Linked DNA regions of Homo sapiens: regions 2 and 3 are each linked to region 1. Evidence: promoter capture Hi-C in human tissues and cell types (Jung and others, 2019). All regions are on one chromosome and are shown on one strand. Each heading gives the region's core, a stretch centred on a gene start or on the middle of the fragment in contact. The rest is flanking DNA. Distances are from core to core; before and after follow the strand shown. Region 1 holds the start of TM9SF2 (transmembrane 9 superfamily member 2). Region 2 overlaps TMTC4 (transmembrane O-mannosyltransferase targeting cadherins 4). Region 3 overlaps TMTC4 (transmembrane O-mannosyltransferase targeting cadherins 4).

What was found. The method cuts DNA at HindIII sites, captures the fragments that hold promoters and counts their contacts. A contact is called where the count stands out against the background at its distance.
Region 2: a fragment that was not itself captured here is called in contact with the fragment with the promoter of TM9SF2 in region 1 in 1 of the 25 tissues and cell types used here (dorsolateral prefrontal cortex).
Region 3: a contact is called between a fragment that was not itself captured here and the fragment with the promoter of TM9SF2 in region 1, in 1 of the 25 tissues and cell types used here (dorsolateral prefrontal cortex).

What each region holds. Positions count from the first base shown.
Region 1 is chr13:99,500,195-99,502,747 of GRCh38, forward strand. TM9SF2 (transmembrane 9 superfamily member 2) reads left to right here and starts at 1,278. Exons shown (of 17, transcript NM_004800.3): 1 at 1,278-1,583. The coding sequence starts at 1,413. LINC00449 (long intergenic non-protein coding RNA 449) reads right to left here and starts at 869. Exons shown (of 2, transcript NR_133664.1): 1 at 201-869. RefSeq lists enhancers at 984-1,163, 1,070-1,658. The HindIII fragment of the contact is 7,318 bases long and covers 1-2,208 here.
Region 2 is chr13:100,627,858-100,630,410 of GRCh38, forward strand. All of the region lies in intron 12 of TMTC4 (transmembrane O-mannosyltransferase targeting cadherins 4), which reads right to left. Among named protein-coding and RNA genes, the nearest start is that of GGACT, 40 kb to the left of the region's middle. The HindIII fragment of the contact is 3,249 bases long and covers 1-2,553 here.
Region 3 is chr13:100,611,083-100,613,635 of GRCh38, forward strand. It overlaps TMTC4 (transmembrane O-mannosyltransferase targeting cadherins 4), which reads right to left. Exons shown (of 19, transcript NM_032813.5): 17 at 1,316-1,428. Among named protein-coding and RNA genes, the nearest start is that of GGACT, 24 kb to the left of the region's middle. The HindIII fragment of the contact is 6,599 bases long and covers 1-2,553 here.

The sequences.
Region 1 (2,553 bases), core at 28-2,527:
AAAAAAAAGTGCCATTCCTTGGGCCAAGCTATGTGCTCAGCACTTTCCCTCCATTTTTGATTTAATCTTCACAACAACCTTAAGATGAACGTTCTTTTCTACTTCCCAGTTCTCTTGATTAACTTGGCTACCCCACTATATGGATCAATTTGCAGGGTCCTAGGTCCCTTTGAAAATCTGATGAAAGTTATAAACCTTACCTGGGAAAAAAGTACAAACACCCGCAAGAACTTGAAATAGGAGTTCACTGGCCCTCAACTTTCTGAGCTTACTATTTCACAAACCTGCCTATTCTTGAATTCTGAGCTGGAGGTCATGATTCTCTCTTATGTACTTTAAGATGATGCACTCTTCCGAAGTTTTTGATTGAACTCTAGTGGCTAACTGAATTGACTTTTTCAGATCACTAAAAAGCTTCTCCTTGAAAAATACTCAGAAGATGCAACACACACACACACACACGTGTGTGCACTTACACACGCGGACACCGTCTCACATCATCAGTGGGAAAAGTGATAGAATCTTGCTAAAGGCTGATCATACCATATTAATCCGATTCGCCAGAACTACTTTCTTCACTGAGCTCTCAGGTATGCTCGGGTCTTCCTTTAAAGAAAATAAATGTCAACGCTACACTCTATCCTACTCCCATTTTCCTCCTCACCCCATTTCCACTCTCCCTTAAAGAGATGTGTGCACACAATCACTGCCCAATGCAAGAATGCACCACTGCATCCAATGCTTGGAAATTGTCCGTGAAGATGCCTTTGAGTAGCTGTCTATTTGAGGATTTGTGGCTAATTCCTCCCCATTTGTTTCCTTAGCCTGCTCCCAACCAGGTGTCTCCAGAACTTTTTCTCTCCGCCACCAACTCCGCCTCCAGACAGACCGCAGGTGCTTTCTGTCATAGGGACTGGCGTGCCGCGGACAGTGTGACAAAGAAACTGTATGATGGATATGAGAACTTCGTAAGACCCAGCAGCAAACGGGGAGCGGCTGGCGAGCGCTCCACAGCCCCCAAGCGTGGGAGCTCTAGATCGGAATTTGTAATTTGGAATTGGAACGTGAGCGCCGGAACAGCTCTCCCAGCAACCACCTCTCCCAGCAACCACCTCAGCTGGCGCGCGGAAAACCCGGAAAGTGGATTTCGCCCCCGCTCCCTCCCGGAAACTCCTCCTGGTGCCTGCGACCGTTCTCACTGAGCATGTGCAGACGGCGGTGCGCATGCTCTGTTGCGGTCCGCTTCGGTTTCTGTTGCGGGACCCGGGGTGTCTCCTAGCGCAACCGGAACTAGCCTTCTGGGGGCCGGCTTCCTTTATCTCTGGCGGCCTTGTAGTCGTCTCCGAGACTCCCCACCCCTCCTTCCCTCTTGACCCCCTAGGTTTGATTGCCCTTTCCCCGAAACAACTATCATGAGCGCGAGGCTGCCGGTGTTGTCTCCACCTCGGTGGCCGCGGCTGTTGCTGCTGTCGCTGCTCCTGCTGGGGGCGGTTCCTGGCCCGCGCCGGAGCGGCGCTTTCTACCTGCCCGGCCTGGCGCCCGTCAACTTCTGCGACGAAGAAAAAAAGAGCGACGAGTGCAAGGTGGGTGAGGCCTGACGAGCCCTCTGATGCACTGTTGGAAGGGGAAGTCGTCCCTATCCGGGGGAGCTGATCCTCGGGTGGGAGCGAGGGAAGGGGGCGTAGCAGCGGGTGGGGTTGAGTTTCCCCAGAAGCTTTTGGGGTCTGCTGGGCTGTGGGTGGGGGGCTCTGAAACAGCCCTTGCAAGGGTAGTTTCTGGAGGACGCAGTGGGCCTCAGACTCGCCTCCCGTCTTGCGGGCCAAGTGGCACGAGCAGCTGTATTCAGTTTTCCTGGAACAGGGACCGTGTGGAGCGCCCTTGGAGTTGGGCTTCACGCCTCAGAGCTTTGGAGTTGGATGTATGCAGGTCCACGCGTGAGTGTTCGCTCACAGCCCTGTAACATGTACGCTGAGGAAGCGGGTGACCGACTCCCTACATGTGAGCAACACTCAGCCTAGTTAACAGTTTCCATTAGCTTTTAACTTCATTGCTTCCTGTTTAATTGCATTTTCCTGGAACCTTCTAGTTGGTTAGGAGAGCTTGTTCTTTCTAGGACTTTGATATCTCGCTTCACAATTAGAAGTTGGTTCCTTATTTGTGGAGTATAACACCCAGAGCCACACAAAGTGCATTAATAAAGAGTTGCTGTAATGGTTGAGGCACTTGATTTCTGAGTTTTAAGTGTAAAAGATTTTAATACACAAAAAAAGATACGAGGTCTCACTATTTTCTCTGAGATGGTTTTAAACACTTAAAAGGGGCAAATGGTGGGAGAAACTGGTGTTTTCCTAGGGCAAGTCTTGAAAACTTTGATCTCTTACAACATTCACACTCAAGGTTTTCAGTTTAATTGCTAGTAAAAGAGGCGTAAATAAAGTAACCTGCTTTTAGGTTATATGGTGTAGGGCTTTACAGTATACATACACAATTATTTCGTTAAGTTTATTTAAAACTTAACATTTGGGGGATGAGGATCTCTTTGAAACCTTTAAT
Region 2 (2,553 bases), core at 33-2,532, 1.1 Mb after region 1:
GGGGAGAAGCAGGTGTCAGGGGCTCCAGGGAGGCTGTGGCTGCAGTCCTAGGAGAGAGGTCAGCAGACTGAACTAGGGTGGTGGTGAATCTGTGGAGGGGTTTGAAGAACAGTGAGGAAGCAAAAAGCATACAAATTGGTGACCAACTGATAGGAGAGAGGGAAGAGTGTCAAGAACAAGTGGTAGGTTCCCAACATTCAGGACAGAATGGGTGTGATGACTTTCAAGAGATGTGATGGGTGACCAGCCTTGTTTAGGGGTACAGGATAGGCTGACGTGGAAGTCCATGGTCACCATCCATCTCCAGAGTTCTTTCATTTTGCAAATCTGAAACTCTGTACCCATTCTCACCTCCACCAGACCCTGGCAACCTCCATTCATTTTCCGTCTCTATGCATTTGACTCCCACGTGCCTCATGTAAGTGGAATTGTACAGGATTTGTCCATTTGTGTCACATGTGTCAGAATTTCCTTCCTTTTGTGGCTGAATAATATTCCCTTGCATGAGTACACCACATTCTGTTTGTCCATTTGTCCCTGGATGGACACCTGGGTAGCTTCTACTTTTTAGCTATTGTGAATAACGCTGCTGTGAACATGGGTGTACAAATCTCTCTGAGTCTCTGCTTTCGGTCCTTTTGGATATTTGCCTGGAAATTGAATTGTTGGATCACAGAATTCTGTTTTTAATTTTTTGAGGTACTAACATGGATAGTTTTATGTTATAGGAATTTTACCTCCATTTAAAAAAAAGAGAGAATGAGGAAAGGATTTTCAATGACTGAAGAGGGGGTGAAGTAGGCTGGATAGAATGGGGCTCCCAGCTGCCAATCTACTAGGAATTCTCAGGTCACCTTGGAACGAGGGCATCAGGGAAGCCAACGTCTGGTAGTTTCTCAACTAAACATGGGCTTAGAATAAATGACAAAGAAAAAAGTGGGGACTTGAACTAAGCCTAAGGCAGCCAGACTACACAAGCTCACGAAGACTACAATAAAAAGAATTTGTTGGCCGGGCGCAGTGCCTCATGCCTGTAATCCTAGTACTGCAGGAGGCCAAAATGGGTAGATCACCTGAGGTCAGGAGTTCGAGACCAGCGTGTCCAACATGGTGAAACCCCATCTCTACTAAAAATACAAAAATTAGCTGGGTGTGGTAGTGCACGCCTGTAATCTCAGCTACTTGGGAGGGTGAGACAGGAGAATCGCTTGAACCCAGGAGTTGGAGGCTGCAGTGAGGCAAGAGCATGCCACTGCACTTCAGCCAGGGCGACAGAGCAAGACTCTGTCTCACAAAAAGAAAAAGAAAAAGTGAAAGAAAAAGAAAAGTATTTGTTGATGATCAAAAGCTCCTTTCGGGACTTTACAATACAAAGTGAGTAGCAAGCCCAGAGGAGACGATGCTACAGAAACTCACTCAATCAGAAGCATGAAGTGTGGGTGCTGCTAACAACAGTCACGGTGAATGGTAAGATGGTGTGTAGCTGGCACACCTTGAGTGGCACCCACCAGCTGGGAGCGGTGTTGCGTGCTGTGTGATCGCGGTCTTTCCTCACGGTGGCTCGAGGCCGTGGCTGCTGTGACCCTCTCTTCTGAGTTGATAAACTGCTTCGGGGCCATTCAGCGTCTCATCTAGGGCTGTGAAGTTGGATTAGAACCAGGCTCTGAAGCCTGTGTTTCTTCCCACTAGATAATACACATTGATTACAGTGCTGGGGGAAGATGAGGGTGACTGCTCGAGGCACTTTCTAGATCCACTCATTCATACCACTGGCCTTTTTCCTAAGTAAAATCACATTTCTTTTTATATGTTATTGTCCCCCAAAGTTTACATTAAACCCTCAGCACCCCAGAATGAAAATGTATTTGGAGATAGGGTCTTTAAAGAGGTAAGTAAGGTCAAATGAGGTCATATGGTTGGGCCCCCATCCATATGACCCCAGTCCAGTATGAATGGCGTCCTTACAGAAAGAGGAAATATGGACACAGACACCAGAGATATGTGTGCACAGAAGACACACCACGTGAGGACACAGGGGGAAGGTGCCGTCTGCAAGCTAAGGAGAGAGGCCTCACAAGAAACCAACCCTGCTGACACCCTGATGTGACAATTCCAGCATTTACAACAGTGAGAAAATTAACTGTGGTCTAAGCCACCCAATCTGTGTGTATGTGTGTGTGTGTGTGTGTGTGTGTGTGTGTGTGTGTGTATGTGTGTGTGTGTGTTTATAGCAGCCTGAGAAAACTAATAAAATCTTGAAATACAGAAGTGGTTTAAACACATTCAAATAACATTATGTCTGAACACTGCTTCCAAATGACCCCTGAAAACACAACCACATCCTGCCTTATCCATCTTAACCTACAGTTACAGCACTTCGTCAAACATACTTAGATTTCTGGAAGAATATGCAGCAGTGCATATTAACAGGTTTTCTTAACTGCCAATTTAAAAGCATATAGATTTATGTTTACCCACTCTGATGAAAGGACTCACAAGCAGAGAAATTGCAGGTGATAAAAATGTGTGTACTACCATGCACCACACAGTAGA
Region 3 (2,553 bases), core at 25-2,524, 1.1 Mb after region 1:
TACTGATAATGACATGTAATAAACAGAAAAAGAGAAGTGAATAACACTGGACAGATATTAGCTAGTTGCTGCCTTTAGGTCTTATACATAGGCTGAGTGATTGAAATAAGATATAGCCCCTGATTCTGAAATAAAGGTATTTCTCTTAAGAAACGACTAAGGCACTGCTTCTGTGATATCTGTGTTTAACACCCAGGATGCCAGCTAAAAATGCATATTCCAGCTGGGCGTGGTGGCTCATGCCTGTAATCTCAGCACTTTGGGAAGCCGAGGAGGGTGGATCACAAGGTCAGGAGATCAAGACCATCCTGGCTAACACGGTGAAACCCTGTCTCTTCTAAAAATACAAAACATTAGCCGGGCGTGGTGGCGGGCGCCTATAGTCCCAGCCACTCGGGAGGCTGAGGCAGGAGAATGGCGTGAACCCGGGAGGCGGAGCTTGCAGAGAGCCGAGATGGCGCCACTGCACTCCAGCCTGGGCGAAAGAGCGAGACTCCGTCTCAAAAAAAACAAAAAAAATAAAAAAACAACAAAAAAATGCATATTCCCTGACCTGACCTAACCCACGAAGCCAATCCCTTCTGGGGAGAATCTGGGCATCTCTACTTTAACAAGCTTCCTCAGTGATTCTGATAGACAAAATTAAAGTTTACAACCAGTCCCCTTCAACACACAGGGAGTTATGCATAGCCTATTCCTGCTCCACCCTGGCTGCCAACTGGAGCAAAGATTTAGTATCTTGTGGTTTTTGTTGGTCAGAAAACTCTGGGCCTTGCTGGTGGCCTATATAACTCAGATAAAGAAAAACCTGGAAGCAGCAAGAACCAGTCATGCATCCTCCATGGGCTGGTTATTCTTTTGTGCAGAAGATGGAACCTGCAGATAAAACCTAGAGCTCCAGCCCATGTGCAAGTGACAGAGTCAAACCCTGTTGTGCTAGGGTGGGGCTGGGGCAGGGGCACCTCCGGGGATGCACTGTGGCTGCCCTGAGTCCTCCTCCTGCACCAGCCTGCCCGGCCTCTGAGGCCAAACATTCCACAACTCCCTGCCTGCTCCCACCCCTTCCTTGGGCTTCTCTTCCTCTCTCCACGTGTGAACCACAGTGGTTAATTCTGATGAGAAAGGACACTGGGTTTGGCCCCACACCGCTGTCTTTGAAGCAACTTTTCCAGGAAACAAACTGGCCAAGCCACATTGGTGCACCACTGCCACTGTTTTGGCCTGATTCCTAATTTAACTGGGCAGAAGTAACACTTACGTCTTCTGTCAGATGCTGGCACTAACTGCAAGAACTCACAGCCTGCGGTTTACGCACCTTGTATTTCTGGGATTTCCCCAGCACGTTTGCCAACGAGAACATGAGAGAGTGATCATTAGGTATTAATTCCAGTGCCTCTCTTCCAACTGCTTCAGCTTGGGCTAAATTACCTGGGAGTGAAAAATGGAAAAATAAAAGACATGTTAATGTTGTACTCGCATTTTAGCTTCTCTCTATAACTAACAGGGTTTATGTGCACAGCACATGACAATTATGAATAAACTACTTAAGAAAATCTGTGTAGATCATGTAATACACACACACACACACACACACACACACACACACACACACGACGTTATCAGTGGCAAAGCCACTGCAATTCAGCACATTTCTGACACAACACATAAACAGCTTTTGATTAACTTCTGTAAAACCATCTAAAACCTAGTTTTAATTTTTTCCCAGATACCAGTTATACCCAAACAAATCTGCAAAATAAGAGGATGACAGTAACACTTTCATAACTGAGAATTTATCACATTGAAGTATACATTCTATATTTTCCCTAGAAACAACCATATATCTCTGCTCTACACCATGATCAAATTAACACCATCATTAACATATTTTTACTGACACATAACTGTACATATTGATGGGGTGCATGTGATACTTTGATACATGCATACAATGTGTAGTGATCAAATTAAGGTACTTAAGACAACCATCGCCTCAAATATTGATCATTTCTTTACGTTAGGAACATTTCACATCTTCTAGTTCTTGTGAAATATATCATAAAGTGTTAACTACAGTCACCCTACTGTGCAGTGGAACACTAGAACTGACTCCTATCTGTGTTTGTACCCATTAACCAGCCTATCTTTATCCCCGCCCCCTTCCCAGCCCCTAGGAACTACTGTTCTGCTCTCTAGTTCCACGAGGTCCATTTTTCCAGATCCCCCATGAGTGAGAGCATGTGATATTTGCCTTTCTGTGCCTAACACCATCATTTCTTAAAAGACGTTTGGATTTTTAAAGTGAAGGAGGCAGAGTAACTCCTAATTGATTGAATCTGGTCTGCTCAGGGATAGGAAACCAGATCTTCAAGTCGATTAGCATTATATAAAAAGAAAGAATCCATGGCTCCAAGTGTAGACTGAGGGGGCTCCTTTGAGTGAAGTCCCTGAACTTGGGGCATGGACCTAGTACTATCCATGTCATTAGCCCCAAGGCCATTCTTGCTCACTTCTGAGTGCTCCCAACACCCTAGAGGATGGCCAATGGTGGAT